Regions from separate parts of the Homo sapiens genome. Here region 2 is linked to region 1. The links are contacts of gene promoters, found by promoter capture Hi-C in blood cells and fetal thymus (Javierre and others, 2016). All regions are on one chromosome and are shown on one strand. The core of a region is centred on a gene start or on the middle of the fragment in contact, and the rest is flanking DNA. Distances in the headings are between cores, read along the strand shown.

The links. Contacts are between HindIII fragments. The CHiCAGO score rates a contact against its expected background, and 5 or more counts as called.
Region 2: a fragment that was not itself captured here is called in contact with the fragment with the promoter of IKZF5 in region 1 in 1 of 17 cell types (fetal thymus); the score reaches 5.3 in fetal thymus.

The regions. Positions count from the first base shown.
Region 1 is chr10:123,006,559-123,011,946 of GRCh38, reverse strand. It overlaps IKZF5 (IKAROS family zinc finger 5), which reads left to right and starts at 3,152. Exons shown (of 5, transcript NM_001372123.1): 1 at 3,152-3,253; 2 at 4,771-4,921. ACADSB (acyl-CoA dehydrogenase short/branched chain) reads right to left here and starts at 2,941. Exons shown (of 11, transcript NM_001609.4): 1 at 2,876-2,941. The coding sequence starts at 2,917. RefSeq lists enhancers at 3,036-3,365, 3,646-3,875. The HindIII fragment of the contact is 4,856 bases long and covers 1-4,435 here.
Region 2 is chr10:133,257,043-133,262,430 of GRCh38, reverse strand. It overlaps ADAM8 (ADAM metallopeptidase domain 8), which reads left to right. Exons shown (of 23, transcript NM_001109.5): 23 at 1-8. Among named protein-coding and RNA genes, the nearest start is that of MIR202HG, 12 kb to the right of the region's middle. RefSeq lists enhancers at 1-107, 3,046-3,095, 4,094-4,393 and a silencer at 424-753. The HindIII fragment of the contact is 5,337 bases long and covers 1-5,292 here.

The DNA of each region.
Region 1 (5,388 bases), core at 1,903-4,402:
CCAGGAGTTCAAGGTTACGGTGAGCTATGATCACGCCACTACACTCCAGCCTGGGCAAGAGAGTGAAAACTTGTCTAAAAAAAAAAAAAATCATCTCTTAAAAGACATCAAGCGGCCTGGTGTGGTGGCTCACGCCTGTAATCCCAGCATTTTGGGAGGCCATGGCGGGTGGATCATGAAGTTAGGAGTTTGAGACCATTTCCATCTTGCTGACCAAGATGGTGAAACCCCATCTGTACTAAAACTACAAAAATTAGCCAGGCAAGGTGGCAGGCGCCTGTAATCCCAGTTACTCGGGAGGCTGAGGCAGGAGAATCGCTCGAATCCGGGTGGCATAGGTTACAGTGAACTGAGATCGCACCACAGCACTCCAACCTGGGCGACAGAGTAAGACTCCGTCTCAAAAAAAAAAAAAAAAAGATATCAAGCTACATTAAAATGCTTTGGAACCACAGGTTAACTACAAGGTCCAATTCTCCACTAATTGGGTTGCTTAGACCAAATGGGCAGGACAGTTCTAATCCATCTGCAGGACTAGGAGAGACCTTCTGAGAAGGCAGGGGTAGGCTGAAGGTCAGCATTGCAATCTGATTGTTATGTGACTTGGGAACACTGGTTATTGCCTCCGAGTTCCTCATTTGCAAGATGAAGCCACTAATATACCTACTTCAGAGGTTTACAGGAAGAGTAAATAGGGTAGTGGGTGTAAAATGCTGTCCCTGGTCTACAATAAGTGAGTAAATGCTAGCTTTCCATTTGCCTCTGGATAGAAACCAAAATTAGCCCTACCTTGCATTTCTCCCCACTCCATGCCACTTGTGTCCACAGCCATCTACCTACACTGTGGCATGAGGAAACTCCAAAGCTCTTGACCTTCAATGGCTCCTAACAATCCAAAAGGATCAACCCCCAATTCCCTAAAGTGGCCTCAGTCCCCTTTTGTTGCAGTTTTCTGACCACTCCTTTCCCCTCCTAAACTCTAACCCAGCTTCCAAAGAGCCTATCACTTCCCCAATGGTCCTAGTCATTTCTATCTTCTGAATCTGCACGCAGACTGTAGCCCCTTAGGATTTGTTCCACACCTACATGACATGGGGTTAGTTGCACATAGTTCTAACCTTTCCTCTAAAAGATAAACTTCTTGGAGGTAGAGTATTTTATTCATTATTACATCTGGCATAGCACACAATGCTTCGTGCATGGCAGTAAGAGCTGATATTTACCGAGAGCTGACTACATTCCGAGCACTATTCTAAGTGCCTTACATGAACATATGAGCTCATTTAATTTTCACAACAATTTTGGAATACGCACAATTATTCTCTCCATTTACAGACCAGGAAACTGAGACCCAAAGCATAACCTGTCCAAGGTTATACCACTAGGAAGTGAGAGGGCCTGGGTTCAGATCCAAGCAGCCTAGCTACAGAACCTACGTTCTTAACCACTATGCTACAGTCGATGTTCAATCAATTTAGCTAATTTATGTAAAAGAGCTTCAAAAACTATAAAGGACTATAAGCCACAATAAACCAAAAGTTCAAACAAAATAGGTTTTTGATATCTCTAAGGACGGGGAGACAGTAGTATATGAAGGTTAAGTTTAGAATCAGACCAGAGTTCGAATACCACCAGCTCTATCCCTTTCTATCTGTGGGCAAGCTATTATTCTTTTTCAGCATCTGCAAGATTAAACTACTTGTTAAGATGGTTGTGAGAATTGAGATGACTCAGGTAGAACGAGAACGTGCCTACCACAGAGTATGCGGTCAATAAATTTTGGCTCTAAAACAGAGTCAAATTGTAAAACCAAAGAAATTTTCTTTGCTAAGTTATTAACCAACAATTATAAACAGTATTAAACAATAATCACTTACTGTTTTTTATTGCACTTCAGGCCTGTAAAACAGTCAAATAACATTAATTATCTCTAATAAGAAAAAGGGTCAGAGTTCTGCCTCTGGGCATAAGACTGAAGCAGCAGTTGGAAAGCCTAACTCATTAAAGCAAATGCAAAGGAAACATTAAAAGCACACGTAAGCAGTGGGAAAATTCCCAGTGAAGTGTACTGACAAATACAAGTGTATCCAAATGTGTATGTTCTGAAAAGCATGCTATATAATAGGTCCAAGGGGTGAAGAGCATAGGATGTTAACACAGGGGCTGTTAACAGTTTGTGTGGGTGCACAGATAAGAATTAAGCACAACAAGAGGCTGGTTTCAGCTTAAGTTCATGGAAGAGGGACCGGCACCGGCTCCGGCTCCCCTGGGCGGCGGTGAGTCTATCCACGGAAGATACCCAGGCTCCAGACATGAGATAAGGGGCAGAGGGAACTCTGTCCCTGGCCGGGAAGCCCGAACAACTCCGAAGTCCCTTACTACCTTTGAGCGGGGCCGCGGAAGGAAGGACAGGGAGACACCTGCTCAGAATGAGACTGGGCCTATATTTTAACTATCTTTTTTGGGGGAGGGGGTGTGAAATGTAATCACTCGGGAAAGGTGCGTTAGGGCATCAGGGAGGTGACATCTGTGCAAAATGCATCCAGAGATCCAGAGATCCAGACTCGGTGGCTCTCAGGACGCAACGGCCTGCAAAGGACATCTTGCGGACGCGACCCTCCGACTCCACTCAAGGTACTTGCTCCGCCAAAGCAGCTTCTAGACAGCCCCGACCCCCTTGCCACCAGCTGCCTCCACCAGAGGCCTGAAGGGGGTCGGGGTCATAGACTGCCCGCGGGTAAAGAGTCTGGGGACCCAGGACGTGGAGCGGGGCTCAGGCCGGCGCCCCGAGGCCCGTTAGAAGGCTCTGCCAGCTGCGATTCCAGGGGCCAAGGTCGCCCTGGGCCCCCAGGACGCCAGCCTCGAACGCACTCACCAGCCTGCTGCCGCGCAGCAACCGCACTGCCAGGCCCTCCATCCTCGCCGCAGGCCTCTCCGCTCTGCGCCTCTGGGTCTCTAGCCAGCCCCTGGGAGTTACCCGAGCAAGGCCCCGCCCACTCAGTACCCGCCCCGCACACACCCCCCCTTAATCCCTGCCCCCTGCTGCCTACGGAACCCCAAGAGAGACAAACAGGCCCCTCCTCGCTTTCGCCCTCCATCCTGCTCACGCGAGACTTGAGCAAGGCAGGGGGGCGGGAAGGGAGTCGGAGACACAACAAAGATGGCGGCGGCGACTGTGACGGTGACGAAGACGGCGGCGGCGGCGACGGCATTTAACAAGGCGGTGTGGTTTACTCCATGCAGTTGTCAGGAGGTAAGTAGCAGGCTGCCGGCTCGGACGGCGGCGACGCGGCAGGACAGGGCGGATAAGAAGGAGCGGCCGGAGACTGGAGCTGGGTTCGTGGCGGGCCGGCTGATCCGGACGGAGACTCAGTTCAGTGGAGGGTCGGGCGTGGTCGGTAGGCGGGCAGGTGATGGCCCGGGACCTCTTTAGCCGGAGGGCAGTGGACTGCGGCGCCTATGGCCGCGAGAACCCCGAGGGAGCGGGGTCTCCTGCTGTCATTGCCTTCGAGCAGGAGCTCGGAGGCTCCGGGGCGGGGACTGTTGCTTGGCTCTGACAGGTGGTTCTGCGGGAGGCGTCCCGAGGTTTGCGTCTTCACGGGGTCCCAGGGGCTGGGAGTCAGCCGGGCGCGGGTCTCCTAGGTGTTTCGAATCCTGGCGAGGATGTCGCTCCGAATCTTGGTGAGGCTGCTGCCCCGACGCCGGTCCCAGGCTGATTGTTGGGAGAAGGACGTTTAAAGCCTTCGTATTTTATCTAATGATCCTGCCCGGATCCGTCTCTACTGCATGGGCACCCTTATTTTAGGAACATGTGAGATTTGAGAAAGACATTGTAGCAAATAACTATTCAGGTTCATTCGGGGTTTAGATCTTTGGATAAACTGTGTGGAGCGCGAGTAGCCAAGCCTAGCATGCTCGATGACTGGATCTGAAGCTAAACAAGTTCTAGCAAACACTAACCACGTGGCCTGCTTAGAGTCCCCTTGATGTGCTGGTCAGAACCCGAAAGACGTGTGACAAGCGGAAGAAGACATAAAGGCGTCTTAAATTGTGTGATCTGAGGAAATTCAGTTTTGAAAGAACAGAATGTATTTAAAACAACTTTTTTTTAAACGTAGGAACTAACAATTTTAAAAATTCAATTTAATTTTGATTTATGTCGTGTTGTCACAACAGCTAAAGGTTATTATTATTGATGAGAGTTCGTTACAGTGAATTGAAATGTCTGGTGTTATTTTCCCCTAGCGGTCCAGGATGTTTCCCAGAAAACCGTAGCTGTTTTGTGTTATGATAGGATAAGAAGGATGGGATTCAGATGTGCCCTTATCGGGTGTGCATGTTTTTTTTGTTTTTGTATTTAAAGCCCTTTCCCATTTCCCTACTTAGGACTATGCGTTGTTTTTATGCAACTACAGCTGTTCAGCAGTACTAAGCTTGACCGTTTTGGAAGTGTGCTGTGACTAAATGAAGTTAATCTTAATTTCTTTAAACTGAAGTTTAACTTAAATTTAGACATTAAAAATCTTGCCAAAAACTAATCCACCAGTGAGAAAACGGTAGTCACACCAGTTATTCTTTGGTGATCCTATGGAGCTTTTGCTGAAGTGAAGCTACTGCTTTGTTCTTTGATTAATCTGTCAGTTCGTTTTCTTTTCAGCTAATGTAATGATAAGATTGGCATAAGTTACTAGCTCATTCAACCTGTAGATGCTAATTAAGTTTTTATCTTAAAGGTTTTGATTTGTGGTGTGCTGTTTGTTTTTTATGCAGACCTCTGTATGGCTTTTCAATTTTAGTTGAAATTCTCTCTCCATGGCCTTTTGGAGTCCCTTGCTGTATCTCCGAAGTAAATTTCAATTACTCTACATTTCATCAATGTTGGAGTGGCAAGAAAAAGGAGGAACAGATTTGGGGTGAAAAGGTTAGATTGTATAATTTCTCTTCTGGATTTCTTTCAACATGGTTTTACTTATGTTTTATTTTTATGTTTTGATTTCTGATTTCTCAGAGCCTCATAATTTCTTTTTTTGCCTTCAAGAGTTTTTGACAGTTCTGAAATCAGGAATTGTGTTCCAATTATTTTGGAAGGCCCATGTTACTCCATAGAAACCAATCCTTATTTGTCAACGTTGTCTGTTTATATGTGTTCTATAGCAGAGTAAATCTCAGTGACCATAATTATTAGGCTATGGAGGGTAAACACATCTATTGAACTGTAATCACTTTATGTGTATAGGCCTGCCTTACCCATAAATTATTATGTAAGTAAATTAGTTGCTAATATTGTATTCTTCCTTATGGTTACCTATGAGAAGTAAGACTTCTCATGAATGCTAGGTGAACGAAACATATCCTGCTGTTCCCTAATCATGTTCTCAAAATTCTCCC
Region 2 (5,388 bases), core at 1,375-3,874, about 10 Mb before region 1:
TGACCGAGTTCTGTAGATTCTTGTTAGATCAGCGGGGAAGGATGGAGGGCTTCAGTTCACGAGATACAAGGGTCGGCGCTTGGTAAAATGCAGACTGCGAATAGATGAGGTCAAGCCACCTTCTTTTCTCCCTGGATTTCTCAGGCCCTCCCCAGCGTAACTAAGCAGTCCCGCCCCTCCCGCGGGCAGACGATCCGATCCAGGAACCCACGCCCAAGAAGACTTCGCCGCGATGCACGGAGGAGCCCGCGCTACCCCTGCCCCGCCCCGTCTCCGGGCAATGGCCCGGCCCCGCCCCCGCCCCGTCTCCCGGCAACGGCCCCGCCCGCGCCCCGCCCATTCCGTCTCGTCTCCCGGCAACGGCCCCGCCCGCGCCCCGCCCATTCCGTCTCGTCTCCCGGCAACGGCCCCCGCCCGCGCCCCGCCCATTCCGTCTCGTCTCCTGGCAACGGCCCCGCCTCTTCCGGCCCCATGCCCTTGTCCGGGCCACTGCCCCGCACCCCCCCCGCCATGCTGGGCTCGACCCCGGCCCCGCGCGGCCTCCACGCCTGGCTGGACGCGCTCCCGCTCAGCCACCCACGCGCCGCCTGGCCCGGGACCTCAGCTATGGCGGTGGGCGCGCGTCCGCGAAGTCGTGGAGTCCGAGGGGCCCCCGCGGCAGGGGCCTGCGCCCTCGGCCCAGGAGAAGCGGCGAATGGCCCGCGGCGCCCCTCCCGGTTGCTCGCTGACCCCCCCGCCCAAGAGTCTGGGGCTGCGAACCCCGCTTCGCCTTTGCTGCATCCGACTCAGCCTTTCAGATCTGTAGGATCCGGGACTCCAGTGTCCGACTACAGGGCGGGGCTCACGGCCCACACGCGCCGCAGTACCCCGCCCGATGCGCACGTTCCCTCTGGGCACCCCCTGGGAGCGTCCCCGTGGTGCCAGGCTGGCGCGCTGGCCTCTGAGGAGGTGGCTTCTGCTCTAGGCACCTGAGCAGCAAGTCTGAGTGGGCGCCCACGGGGCGGAGGCTGTTAGACGCATCTGGTGCTGCACCGAGGAGGCCTGACGTCCCCTGTGGCCAAGCCCCCACACCCATGGGTGCTGCCTCCGGGTGGCTCCTCCGAGGCAGAGCCCTGAGCTGATAGCGCCCATTCGTCTCGCAGGCCTGCCACGCCCCCAGCTCCCTTCAGCACGAAGAATGAGAGCGTTCTGGAGGGGACAGGCCACTGCACTTGCAGAGGGTGGGTTCCTGTCTCTCAAGCCCATACCTCCCTTCCTCCCGATCTCCCCAGCCTCCGCCGCCCACCCCATTTCCTCGACAGTTGGATTCAAGGCTGGTGTCTACCTTGTAGTGGGGACCCAGCCGCCGGGCGCCAGAGCACCCAGACCCCGGAGTCCAGCAGCTACTGGAGGACAAGGAGCAGGCGCTGTCCTTTCCGCAGGAGACAGTCAGGGTGCAGGCGACCTGGCACCCTTGTTGCCGGGACACCCTGTGGCTGAAGGACTGGGAAACAGGGCCTGTGCGGAGCCTTGCAGAGAGGGCATGGCCTTCATTTTCTCCAGCCCTCCCCAAAATGCAGACATTTGCTGAGTACCTGTGGGCACCAGCTCTTATCACCTGGCGGTGCTGGCTGGCAAGTCTGCCTGGCTGCCCTCCAGCCAGAGCCGAGCCCCTTCTCCCATCCCCAAATGCACAGAAGACAGCCAGAGAGCCAGGGTCCTGGGCAGCACCTGCCCAGCCCAAGACTCCACATGAGCACTTAGATATGCAGTGCACACCTGGCTCTCTGCACACACCTGGTTCTCAACAGACACCTGGCTCTCCATGCACACCTGCTCTCAGTGCACACGCGGCTCTGCAGTGTACACCTGACTCTCTGCACACCTGACTCAGTGCACACCCGGCTCTGCAGCGCACACCTGACTCTCTCTGCACACCTGGTTCTCAGTGCACACCCGGCTCTGCAGCGCACACCTGACTCTCTCTGCACACCTGGTTCTCAGTGCACACCCGGCTCTGCAGCGCACACCTGACTCTGCACACTTGGTTCTCAGTGCACACCTGGCTCTCTCTGCAGACCTGATTCTCCGTGCACACCTGGTTCTCAGTGCACACCTGGCTCTCTCTGCAGACCTGATTCTCCGTGCACACCTGGCTCTCTCTGCACACCTGGTTCTCAGCGCACACCTGCTCTCAGTGCACACGCGGCTCTGCAGTGTACACCTGGCTCTCCGTGCACACCTGGTTCTCAGCGCATACCCAGCTCTGTGGTGTAAACCAGGCTTGACAGGCTCTGTGGACCCATGCCTGGCTCTGCAGGTGCACACCTGGCTCTTTCACCAGGGGTCTCCAGTTTTCCTGCGTGCAGGAAGCCCCTTGCCATACCTGCCTCCCCCAGCTCCAGCCATCAGGACCCTTAAGGGATGCTGGATGGGAGCCCGGACTCCACACAGACGTTCACTCCAGGCCTGCTGGGCAGTGCACGGCCACATCCGGAAGAATCCCTCTCACCCCAGGCACCTGCCTCGGGCACAGTGGCCACAGGAGAGGCCTGCTGACCGCCTCCTAAACCTTCCTATACTGGAAGCACAGACTCAGCCAGTCTCCAGCAGCAAACAACGTGACCCACTGTGGAAAAGCTGAGCTGCCTCAAAGGACGTTTCCCAGGTGAAGCCCAGGAATGACGGCCACATATGGGCAGAGCTGGGTGGCAAGGGGCAGGCCTGTGCTCAGTAGACTCAGCCGGACCAGGGCCCCCATGTGGACCCAACGCCACTCGCCGGTCATCCCAACAGTGTCTCTCGCTCAGAGACAAACTCCAAAGGCCAGGGGGTCTCTGCTGACTCTTCCAGGGCATCCATCTGACCCCATGCTGTGCAACAACTAAGCCAGGGCCCTCCGTGGAGTCGCCTTAAACTGCAGCTTGAGCTGCTTTCCCTCTGGGTGTCATGATGCAGCTGTGATTCTTGCTGCCACACGTGGATCATGGAGGCCGTGACTGGGAAGCCAGCAGCTTCACTTCCTGCCACCACTCCCTCTCTGCCAGGCTGCGGTCAATCTGAAGCCACAAAATGACGTCACTTTCCTGCTTTCTCCAGAAAACAGCTCATCCAGATCTGGGCACCCGCTCAGGAACCGCGATGTCGACATCATCTCCAAGAGCCCCTTCAACCCCGAGGCCCCTTGGGCACAGCCTGCACACCTGCCCCACACACTCTGTCCTGTGTCCCGGGCCCCTGTCTTGAGGTTCTGCCCTCCCCGGTGCCCCTGGGCCGAGGGCTTAGTCCCCTGCGGGGTCTCAGGAAGGAACTTCAGGGCCACAAACCTCAGGAGGGTTCCAAAGCCGCCTCAGGAGGCAAGGCGAAGGCAGCTGAAAGCAGCCGCTTCCTCCCTGAGCCAGAAGGCAAGGCCCCCTCCCCCTGCACGGCCAGCTGCTGCACCGCCCTGCAGGGGCACTGAGGCACAGCCCTCTCCACCCAGTGTCCCTGCAGTGCATAGGCTGAGAGGGCGGCTTCCCAAAGACTGGCCTGGTCAGGTGTGGTCAGCTACCCGGGGCCGCCTGTTCCCAGAGCCCCTCTCGAAGCCAGGCCAGGGCTGCCTCTAGGAAGGGGCCATTCCCAGGGGAGCAGCCCCTCAGTGCCACAGTGGGCTGGGGAGGGCCACGGCGGGTGCCAGCCCCCAGGGTCCGCCGCTTCCCCGCTGTCAGGGGGACTCGGTCCTGGCTCAGGAGTCCGGGTCATGCTGGGTCATGCACGTGGCAGGCTGCAAGCGGTGCTCCTGGAATCAGGAGACTCAGGTTTTCTGGAGTCACTGCAGTGACCCCTCAGAGACAGGGCTCCCACAGCACAGATTTCAGCAGGTCCTGCAGCTGGGGCTGGGCAGGAAGTGCTGGGGAAGGGCCTGGCCGAGAAGCCCGAGCCAACCCAGGCCTAGGCAGCTTCTGTCAGGAGCTGTGGCAGTGCCAGACCCTGCCCTGCCACCCCGGGTGGTGACAGCACAGGCCACCGCTCAGCTCCAGGTGCCCCCACAGGCTCATGCACACACAAACAGGGCTGCCTGCCACCTGCGAGGAACCTGCTCTCTCCAGGGACTCAGAAACAGGCGCCAGGCCAGAGACACACCACAGCCAGAAAGGCAGGTATCAGGAGCCAGCGGGTGCTTGGTGCCTGGAGGCCACACCCCAGACACCCACAGGCAGGGCCGGCTCACCCGCCGGAAGACAGGCCCAGGAGGCCCTCTGCAGGGTCCCCAGGATGACCAGGGCCCTGGTGGCATGAGGCTGGTGGAGGGTGTTGAAGCCAGGAACCCTCTCGATGGAGTATGGACCCCATCCTGGCTGGAGGAGAGGTTGTCAGGGCGGGGCTGGCCCTTGGGAGGCACCACAACCCCTGTGCAGGGTACCCCAACCGGGGAGAAGCCACCAGGCCACGCTGGAGTGGGAGCCAGGACCTCAGCGCCAGGTCCCCACCGCGTCTGCCGTGCCCACCCCTAGAGGGTGCTGAATCCTGGCCCCTCCCAGCTCTGGGTGTGTGGTGGGGAGGAGCTGCTTCTCTCCGTCCTCACCCGGCCTTGCCCTCGGCCAGCAAAGACCGCAGAGGAGAGTGAGACCCTTGGGAGCTCCCTGGGCTCAGGGGTTCTGAGTGCCTGTGCTGGGACCTTGGACGGCCAAGACACCGCTTGACTTCCACCTTCTGTCCTCTGGCGCCCGCCTGCACCTGGTCCTCTGCCTGCCCACGCGGCCAGCTAGAAAGCGCGCGCCCTCCAGTGGGAAGGAGAGCAAGGAGTAAAACGTCCCGCCAGGGAGTGGGGAGTGTCAGGAAATTAGGAGGAAGTGTCGGGGCTGCGGCTTGCCGGGATGTAGGAGCACAGGCCCTGGGGCAGAGGAGGGGCGGGGGGAGCCGTGAGAGGCCCGGAGGGAGCAGGGGAGGTGGAGAGGAGCTTTCCCCAGTGGAGCTGGCAGGAAGAGTCCCAGGTGCAAGGAGCGCATTTTAGAATTCCAGGACTCGGGAGGAAACCTGCAGGATGAGGGCTCCCCTTGGGGGCGGCCTGCATTTCTCAGCGGGAAGGTGGGTGTGGGTGCCCCTCACATCACCTGGCGTTTATTTTTGCATGTGTGAAATATAACAACAATTTCCTAGGGGAAAACACCCTAGGGTGCACAAAAGTTGTAAAAATGGGAACATATGGTCCGAAACTCACTGCTGAATAATGTGCTGTCATGAAATTTACTTCAAAAACCCCCTCACGGAGTACAATCTTGGGTAGATGAAGGAGAAAAAAAGTAAAAATGAATTTAAAAATCTCTTAAAGCTTCTGTTTTTTGTTTTTTATTTTTGAGACAGATCTGGCTCTGCTGCCCAGGCCGGAGAACAGCTCACTGCAGCTGGAGCCGTTCTCCCACCTCAGCC